Linked DNA regions of Homo sapiens: region 1 is linked to region 2. The links are contacts of gene promoters, found by promoter capture Hi-C in human tissues and cell types (Jung and others, 2019). All regions are on one chromosome and are shown on one strand. Each heading gives the region's core, a stretch centred on a gene start or on the middle of the fragment in contact. The rest is flanking DNA. Distances are from core to core; before and after follow the strand shown.

The links. Contacts are between HindIII fragments. The study calls those that stand out against the background at their distance.
Region 1: a fragment that was not itself captured here is called in contact with the fragment with the promoter of BPIFA1 in region 2 in 3 of the 25 tissues and cell types used here (dorsolateral prefrontal cortex, mesendoderm cells and spleen).

Annotation. Positions count from the first base shown.
Region 1 is chr20:33,132,160-33,137,016 of GRCh38, reverse strand. No RefSeq gene overlaps it. Among named protein-coding and RNA genes, the nearest start is that of BPIFA2, 34 kb to the left of the region's middle. The HindIII fragment of the contact is 6,794 bases long and covers 1-4,857 here.
Region 2 is chr20:33,233,588-33,238,545 of GRCh38, reverse strand. It overlaps BPIFA1 (BPI fold containing family A member 1), which reads right to left and starts at 2,550. Exons shown (of 9, transcript NM_130852.3): 1 at 2,496-2,550; 2 at 675-849; 3 at 332-491. The coding sequence starts at 834. The HindIII fragment of the contact is 6,820 bases long and covers 214-4,958 here.

The DNA of each region.
Region 1 (4,857 bases), core at 999-3,498, 100 kb after region 2:
TCTAAGCTCTTCTAATGAATCAGATTTGATGACAGATGACTGTTTGTCCAATGGAGGTAAACTTGCTTCTTTTGGAATCTCCTTGGAAGGAGCTTCCAGGAAAGATGGGATGGCTTACCTGTTTGGGACCTGGAACCTCCCAACTGAGCATGGCTTATGCTAAGCAGGTACCAAGGGAGGAGGAAAGTCCACAAAAACATCCCCATGTTCAGAGCAGGTGCCTGCGGAGACAACAGTTGGTCAACAGGTCACCACTGATCTGGGATCCATTCTTACTGTTGCCAGGTAGGATATGTGTACCCATTCTGGATGAAATGTTCCATTATTAGGAGAAGCAGGAATTTTTTTTATTATTCTAATGCAAACACCTGTAAAATGTCAGTTTCTTTTTGGCCATGTCCTTGTTTTGTTGACTTCTGTATTCCCAGCCTCTGAAAAGGGGCCTGAATCATAGCACACAGTCAACAACAACTTGTCAAGAGGAGGCATTAAAGCTCTTGGTTTTAAAACACTATAAACTAATTCAAAATTGTAAAATTGTTTAAATACACTTTGTCTCTCTCGTGTGCACACACACACCCGCACACATCCCTGGGACTGCCAGTTTGAGAGCTCAAGCAAACCCAGGCCTAGGACTGAGTGAGATGGGTGGAGGAGGAAGGTGGGCCCAGCATGCTTGGGATTGGAGAACAGCAAGCTAGGGCAGATCTTGCCCATGTGGGGCATAAGGAGGGCAGACATGGAACGGGAAAATCTGAGCTCTCGCTTGAAGGATGCTGATGAAGCTCTGAATGTGTGGCCCTCATGCAGGGCGGTGACACATGCTAGAAAGAAAGGGTCCAGGCCTCAGGTTGCTGAGGGATGGAGGCTCCAGCAGGATCCCCTCAGGCCACCCTGCAGACGGAGTGGGGAGCCTTGGGCACAGCCAACGCACAGGCCAGGGGGAATTGTTTGCTGCCAGAGTGCACCCCAGCAGGGAGGGCAAGAGAGAGGAGAAGCCTGGGTTCCTGAACCAGATTTTTCCATTTTTTTTCTAATTTTTCATTAAAAATAGATGTAGGAGTTATCTGTGCAGTTTATTATATGGATATATTGCACATAACAAATGGTGCAATGGACCAGGTGTGGTGGCTCACGCCTGTAATCCCAGCACTTTGGGATGCCGAGGCAGGTGGATCACCTGAGGACAAGAGTTCGAGACAAATGGTGCAATGGTGCAGTTTAGGCTTCCAATGTACCCATCACCCTAATAGTGAACATTGTACCCAATAGGTAATTTTCCCCCCTCACTCCCCTTCCCCATTCCCCCCTTTTGGAGTCCTCAGTGTCTATTATTTCCCTCTCTATGCCCTTTTGTACCCATTCTGAACCGGGTTTAGTGTGATGTAGAAAAACAGATAAATTTGCTAGAAAGCTGACACAGGCAACAACATAGGGGGATCTCACAGACATGACATTGAACAAAAGAAGCCAGCTACAGAATCGCTCACACTGTATGGCTCTTTCTGTGAATTTCAGGAGCAGACAGTACTTGCCCACAGAGATAGAGGTCAGAAGAGGGGTCACCTCTGGGGGCAGGTACTGACTGCAGTGGGGCAAAAAGGGGCTCTTTCTGGGTATTGGGAAAGTCCTGTCCCTTGATCTGGGTGGTGGTTGCAAGGGTGCACACATAAGCAAAAACCTGTCTTTCTTACTGCATCTTTTACTGTATACAACTGAAACCTCCATTTAAAACACGTGGAATAGGCTGGGCAGGGTGGCTCACGCCTCTAATCCCAGCACTTTGGGAGGCCGAGGTGGGCAGATCACCTGAGGTTAGGAGTTCGAGACCAGGCTGGCCAACATATGGTGAAACCTCGTTTCTACTAAAAATGCAAAAATTAGCTGGGTGTGGTGGCACACATCTGTAGTCCCAGCTACTTGGGAAGCTGAGGCAGGAGAATGGCTTGAACCCAGGAGGCGGAGGTTGCCGTGAGCCGAGATGGCAACACTGCACTCCAGCCTGGGTGACAGAGCAAGACTCTGTCTCTCAAACAAACAAACAAACAAACAAACAAAAACATGGAATAAAGAAAAAAAGAAAGACTACAGTGGGAAGGAGGACACTCCTTGCCCCTTAAGGGCTGGGAGGTCGTATCAATTACCTTGATGACCCCGTCATGGTTTTTACACCATGTTTCATTGGCTTGAAGACATATCTTTTTCTCATTTTACTCTCTTGGAAATCAGAATGCATCTTACCATCAACGTGTTTAGGTAACAGTGTGTTTTTTTTCTTGCTAGTACATAGAAAAGAGTGGCGTGTTTTACAGCCAATGGCATTCTTTCCATGTCTGCTCTAGAACCCTACAGACAAAGTAGGCGGAAATTCTCTCTTCTCAGAAATTGGACAGAGAAATGGAACGACAACAACTATTGTTTGCAAACACTCAACTTACCCATCACCCCCGTGAATGGCTCCTCACGCGGCTTCCCCCCTGCAGAGTATGGGCATGAACTCGTTTCTGGAAGTGAGGGTGCTCCCTTCTCACCTGGGACCTGTGCACACAAAGCAGTTGTGCAAAGCAGGGACCCTGTTCTCTTCGGGGCTAATGGGGGAGCCCATAGAGTGATGACGACAACATTTTCTAAGCGCCAGGCCCTGTACACAGCACTCCTGCACCATCTCTTTGAGTCCTTATGTCCCTGCCCCCAGGTAGGAGCTTTTCTTAGTCATGTTAGACAGATTACAATTTTCTGCCGCTGATGAAATTATTATTATTATTATTTTGGAGATGGAGTCTCACACTGTTTTCTGGGCTGGAGTGCAGTGGAACAATCTCAGTTCACTGCAATCTCCACCTCCCAGATTCAAGCAATTCTCCTGCCTCAGCCTCCGGAGTATCTAGGACTACAGTCGCCCACCACCACACCCGTCCAATCTATGTTTTTAGTAGACACAGAGTTTCACCATGTTGTCCAGGCCGGTCTCGAACTCCTGACCTCAGGTGATCTGTCTGCCTCAGCCTCCCAGAGCGCTGGGATTACAGGCGTGAGTCACTGTGCCTAGCTGGAATAATTATTTTTGATTATCAGAGCAAGAAATTTTGTCCCCAAAATTAACGGCATTGTCTTAAAAAGGACCACAGACGAGCAAAATAAACACAAAACATCCATGAGCTGACATGGTTTGGGTCCCTGGCTGAGTGGGCTTTGGTTCTCCCTCAGGTCGGGCATCGGCTGTTTGACAGACATAATATACAAAAGACCGAGGGTGCCCATTTTGCAGATCTGGAAATTGAGGCCCTTGGGTTCCCTGGCAGGTCAGTGACAAAGCCAGGACTGGGACCCAGGGCTCCAACTCTTTCCTCCTCATCACCTGCGCATTCCCCAGGGCTCTGAGAGCAGGGAGGGCAGGGTCCTTACCTAGGATGTGGTTCCGGCCACCCAAGACCGGTGGGACTCCTGCATCTGCCTCCGGAGTAAGATCCAGGAGCAGAGGGAAGCTTAAGTTGCAGGTAGGCAGGCCAAGTGGGGGCCGGGGCCAGGGGTGGGCAGAGGCTTGAGAGGCCTGAGCAGGGCTCCTGGAGCACCAGTCACTCTGGCTGACACCAGGACGGAGGTGGGGAGGGCATCCAGGGCCCTGCCCTGGAACCCTGAGGGGAATGAGGCCATAAGTCATCTGGGCTGGCAACTTTGGGAGGAGTGTGACTTCCTGAAGCCACTGCGAGTCCATGTATGTTCTGGTGTGTGTCTGTGTCTGTGTGTGCTTTTGTGCAGGTGCCTGTGTGTGTCTGTGTGGACTGCATCTGTGCATGTAACTGTATGTGGCTTTGTGTGTGTGTACGTGTGTGCACTTGTCTGTATGTCTCTTGGGGGGCGGGTCTCTGTTCTGAGTGAATATCCACAATGCATGGGGAAGAGCCCACCCCTTTCCGCTGATTGCTCAAGCTGTCCTAAGCCCGGGGAAGCCAGCTCCGGACTCCAAGGCAGCTCCCTGGGGAGTCTCTCCGTGTTCTTGGAGAGAATCACTGTCTGGGGGAGCCCGCTGCCCTCCTGTGAGGGTCTCATCGTTCCTCAGAGAAATCTCAAAATTCCCATGAGAATGCACACATTCCTGAGAGGACAGCCCAAATTCCTGAGGAATGCCAGCCTTTCTTTATGAAATGTCCCTATTTCCAAAAGACCTTTTACTTGTTTCTGAAGGAATTCTAATGACGCTTCAGTGTTTCCTCAGAGCTATCATTGTCCATAAGAATGTCAATGTCTCTGAAGATACTGTACAAATCCTGCAGGAATTCTAGGGAATTGGCAATGTTCCCAAGGGATCCCGGTTTTCCTGAGGGAATCCTGGTGCTGGCTGACAGAAGTGTCACCATTTCTCTGGAAATGCCAGTCATTGCACTGGAATTCTCCCTCCCCACCAGGGGCACCCAGGGCCCTCGGAACATCCCAGGCCAGATCTGGAATCTGCACCGGGGCTTCAGGGCAGGTCTCAGCTCTGCCATTGGCCAGTCGTGGGACTGACTCTTCTCTGTCTCAGGTTCCCCCTTGGTGCTGGCCTTAGCACCTGCTCCCTGAGGGACAAGGAGAGCAACTTGCAACCTGTGAAGGGTGGTACCCATTGAAGGGGCTGTTGGTCTTTCTGTCACCATTCACAACCTCAGTGTGACTCTTCCTGAAACCCTCTTGGGGGTTTGAGGAACGTCAGAGCAGGAGGAGGCTGCAGCCCAGAGAGGCCGAGCCATGTCACACAGCACTGACCCCAGTGGGCCTCTCCTGATCCCTCCTGCCATCCCTCTCAGGTACCCTGGCTCTACCCAGTGCCCTCTGAGTGTCACTGGTATGGGAATGGGAGTCAGCCACAAGGTGGCTGGG
Region 2 (4,958 bases), core at 1,301-3,800:
CACTCTAGCAGCGTGAACACAGGCACCTCTGTGCTTTGGTTTTCCCATTTGCAAACTGGAGATTATTAAATCGACCTCAAAGGGTTGTGGTGAGGATTATAGATGATGCTGGGGCCTCAGGACATGCCTAGAACTGAGGGCATTGCTGGTTTGGGGAGGACGGGTGTCCCTGCCAAACTGGAGATGGGTCTCAGAACTGAGTCCTGGCTCCATCTTCAGGCCGCTCCCTCGCTGCTTCAGGGTCGCTGCTTCAGGGTCACTGCCTGGGGCTGGCAGATCTTCACCTGGGGTTCCCTGGTGGAGATCAAAGCTCTATTTTAGGACAACTCACTCAATGATGTTGTTCAGGCCAGGAATCACTGACGTCACTTTTCCAAGCAGTCCCCCAAGGAGGCCACCAGAAGTACCTCCTCCAGGCTTCAGGATGTCCAGGAGCGGAAGGTTTTCCAGAATGCCCAACAGGCCCCCAGACAGCAGGCCATTGCTGAGGGCTGGAAATGGGTGTAAGGGTCTCTGGGGGTCAGATCTGACAATTCCAGATCCTCAGGCCCCCTCCCCCATCCAGCCCTGTCCCTCCCCACTTTGCAGGGTTGGACACACACACACACACACACACACACACACACACACACACACACACACACACATGCACACATACACCCCTGAAAACTCACCATTTGTCAAGCTTCCTGCAAGACCTGTGGGACTCAAGGGCAGGGCTGGATTCACATTCAAGGGCAGGGTCTGGTCCAGGGGCACGGGCAGGCCTCCAAACTGGGCCATGGTCTGGGCTAACAGCCCGTAGAAGACAATGAGGCCCCCAGTTTGAAACATCTTTGCTCTTAGTATCTGTGGCCAGAATGACAAGTCCAACATGGCATGGGTATCAGAGAGGAATTTATCCACCACCTGCCCTGACACCTGGGGGGTGGGGTTGTTTGCTCCCCAGAACACCAGGGGGTCACTAGTAATAGCTAATACTGCTGAACAATTTCTCTTTGCCAGGCAACAGGCTGACCACTTTACACAATTTCATCTTCATCACAACCCTAAGACATGGGCACCTGTTACCTGCATTGCACAGGTGAGGACCACTGATCAGGGGCCTAAAAAGGAGACAGCCCCACTCCACCACATTCCAAAGAAGAGGGTTTTTTTCCTTCTTGCCAAGAATCCCAGCCTCACCTCACTCCATCTTGCCCACAGTTCACTTGTCTGATTTTCCAGTAGGAGAAACCAAGGCTCACAGAGGTCAAGTGAGTTTGCAGTTGGGAGTTTCAAATATACTCCCATCCCTTCTTGAAACCCACTTGTGTACTACCGAGTGTGGGTAACTTTCCCCAAGGTCACAAGTACACGGTGGACAGAGGATTAGAAGCTAGAGCCAGGTGAACCCTCGGTTAAATTAAGTAACCATCAGATTTATTCTCCAATCGGGCTTGCTTCAATGGTTTGAATCATTGCTGCTCTTCAGACAAAGCAAATGAGAAGGGTTAAACGTGCAAGTGCTGAAGAATTGAACTGTTTTAGATCATCCCTGTTCAGTCCTTTGGCCTGAGCTCAGGCCATGATGGTTGGTGGATGCCCTTGAAAGTCACACAATACAGGGGTCGCATGGCCACAGCCACCATCTCATGTAGACCTTTGTTGGGGAATTCCTGGGGCCATCAAAGTCTTCATTGCATGAGAAGAACCAGGAGACCAAAGAGGGGTAGTGACTTTCCCAAGGTCATACAATAAATTGATGGCAGAGCTGTGGTTGAAGGCAGGTCTCCCAACCCTCCCCTCACCCAACACACAAACATGCATTCTATCATTTTGACACCTTTCTCTTCTCCTTCAAGCTGCCCTGGATGGAATTCCGGTCAACCCCTGAGGTTTGGCTTGCAGACCTCTCACAGGTCTATTTGGCAGCCAGCAGAGTTGTCCAGAGCCAGCACTAGTACCTACAATTTGGAGACAACTGGTGACTTTGTGCAAAATTCCATCTATTGGCTGACTCAGCTAAAGCTCCATCCTTGTGGTGGAAGGCTGGAAATGAAAGGTCTTTGGTCCAAAGAGCCAGTTGTGCCCTTCTTAGGGAGGTAACTTTGACCACAGCCTCTGAATCTCTTTTGGGCAACAGACCCTTTATGAATCCAATGGAAGCTAAAGATCCTAGTCTCAGAAAAAATGCATCAAAATGTATAAAATTGGGTGAAGAATTTTAGGAGGTTTTTGGATCATCTGTATCCACATTGGTAACCTCAAGCTAAAACTTATGCCTTAGAGGCTTTCATTTACGGCATTAATAGTGCCCATTTCTATATCAATGTTACTGGTCTCTTAGGACAGCAGAGCAAATGGCCATCCCCACATCCCTGACATTGGCCAGGTCTGTTTCTCTTGCACAGCCCCCAGTGAGTGATCAAGATCACTCACTGCCCCACAGGGCAGGAGCCTGAGATCCCTGCCGTTAAGGGTAGCAGAGGGGCCACAGAATGGATGGCTCTTACCTGGACTTCTTAGAGGTCTCAGCAGCTGTCCTGGTCTCCTCTCTCTCCCCCACTCACTTCTGCCGAGGAGTCAGCCTCTTTTATAGTATGGGGACGAGGAAGCATGTGTTGGGTGATGGGTTTCTAGATAATTGAGAATTCTGCAATCTGACAGTGTCTTTCAGGGCTCTCCAAAGTAAATAATTGCCAATCACATTAGCAGGTGAGACAGTTAAGCTATTTGGTCAACAAGATAAACAGAGAAAAACCTGAGATGGGATGTTACTCAAGACTTTATGGTTTCCTGAGCGGAGCCAAGGTTGGGGACCCACGCTCCCAAGGTAGCTTGGAGCATTGAAAGGAGCAGCCAGACAGAGCCCAGGAAGGGACCTCAGTCTCATCTCTTGGCCCCTTTCCTCTCCTGCTCTAATTTTTTTGCTCCAGTTGGAGGATTCTTTCTCCTAAAATGTCAAAAGAGTCACACTGCATCCTACATCTGGGGTGCGTCTCCATTCCAGGGCAAGGGTCTCCTGTTTTCAGAGCCCCTATTGCACGTCAGGAGCTCTCTGTCCTCACAAGAACCCTGAGAGGGAGAGGTGACTCCTCCTCTTTTATAGAGGAGGAAACTGAGATCCAGTGGGGACAAGTGCTGAAAGACCCAGAGAGGATGCAGCAGAGTTAGAATGCAACTGACTGGAGAATGAAAACAACAAAAACAACGCCAACAGCAGACACTGGCCGAGCTCCTGCTGTATGCCTGGCCTGCCATGGTGTTCACAGGCAGCATCTCACAAAATCCTCACAACCCTGTACTCCTATTCTATAAGGGGGAAACTGAGGCTGAGTGTGAGGCAAGTTGTCCAGAGATGCAGTGCTTGCCTGGGGTGAGACATCCACATTCAGGTCCTTTCCCCGAATCACTGCACTGAGAGATGAAGGTGCCTCCCAACACTTGCTGGCCATTTTGATTTCCCCACCTGTGAACTTTACACTTTCATGCGTCCCTTTTTATTTTTTAAATTTTCACTTAATTTTTATTTTATTTTATTTTTTGAGACAGTCTTACTCTGTCGCCCAGGCTAGAGTGCAGTGGTGTGATCTCAGCTCATGACAACCTCCACCTCCCGGGTTCAAGTGATTCTCCTGCCTCAGCCTCCTGAGCAGCTGGGACTACAGGCGAGCGCCACCATGCCTGGCAAAGTTTTTGTATTTTTAGTAGAGATGGGGTTTCACCATGTTGGCCAGGCTGTCCTCGAACTCCTGACCTCAGGTGATCCACCTATCTCAGCCTCCCAAAGTGCTGGGATTACAGGCGTGAGCCACAGTGCCCCGCCGCTTCTCTTTTAGGTCCTGGAAAAGTCTTTCCAGGTTCCCAGGCCTGAGGGATCCTTTGGCATCCTGGTCTCTATCCTACCCTTTCTTCTACCTTTCCCTAAATGGAGTAATCAGGCATTTATTTATCCCCACCACTGGGGCCCTTGGAGTCTGTTCAGCAGATGAAAAAGTGAAGACACAGGAAGGCCAAGGTCCTGGACCAGTGAGCGCAGCTCTTACCCTGCAAAACCTAACACCTTATAAGCAAAAGTGGAGAGAGAAGGAATAAATGTGCTTTTATTAAGCACTGACTGCATGCCAGGTGCTCTCCATATTTGAACCTCATCTTCTTCAGGAGTGGTTGGTATTGTTGTCTCTCATACATTGGATGAGGAGGCTGAGGATCAGAAAGGGTGACTGCTTCCTGGGGACACACAGCGAGTGAGTGTTGGAGTCAATTGACCCTGCCACCCTCTGTGTCTGTCTGAGTCCCTGCTAATCAGTGGGCCACACTGCCTCCCTCACACTAGGCCTTCACTGGCCTGCTCCACTGCTCTCCAGAGTCTGGGTGGTGCCCCCAAGGGTTTGGGGCCATGGCTTTGAACTTAATTATCCATTCAAGGTACTTGCTGGACTCTGCCCACATCTTGTACATGGCAATCATCCTCACAGTGGTCCCATCGTATAACTCTTGTGGGTTGGGTCAGGTTGCTACTATCCTTGTGGGGAAACTGAGGCAGATAAGGCAAGGAATTAGTAGAGTTTGTGCAGCCAGTTAATGAAAGCTTACACCCTCTGGTTTGAGGCCGGGAGGCTGTGTCTGTATTGCAGCAGAAAGTGGGTGAATTTGGGCTCAAACAGCCCTGGTTCAAATCCTACGACCCTGGGCAAGTCAGTCCAGTTCCCTGAACTTCATTCAGTTTCCTCACCTGTAAAATGGGGAGCATAAAATCTGCCTCACAGGGCTATGGGGAGATGATGTCTGGGGAGCTGGTATGAATCACAGTTCATAAACTCAGGCGTCCACACATCTTTCTGATTTATCTATACTTTACCATTTCAAATGCCATTTTGCTCAGGAACAGAAATGTCCCAATTTCCCCCTGGGGTTTCATGTCTGTGCTAGGGGCTTTGTTTGTACCAAGGAGGCTGCCTGTCCCTATTTTTGGC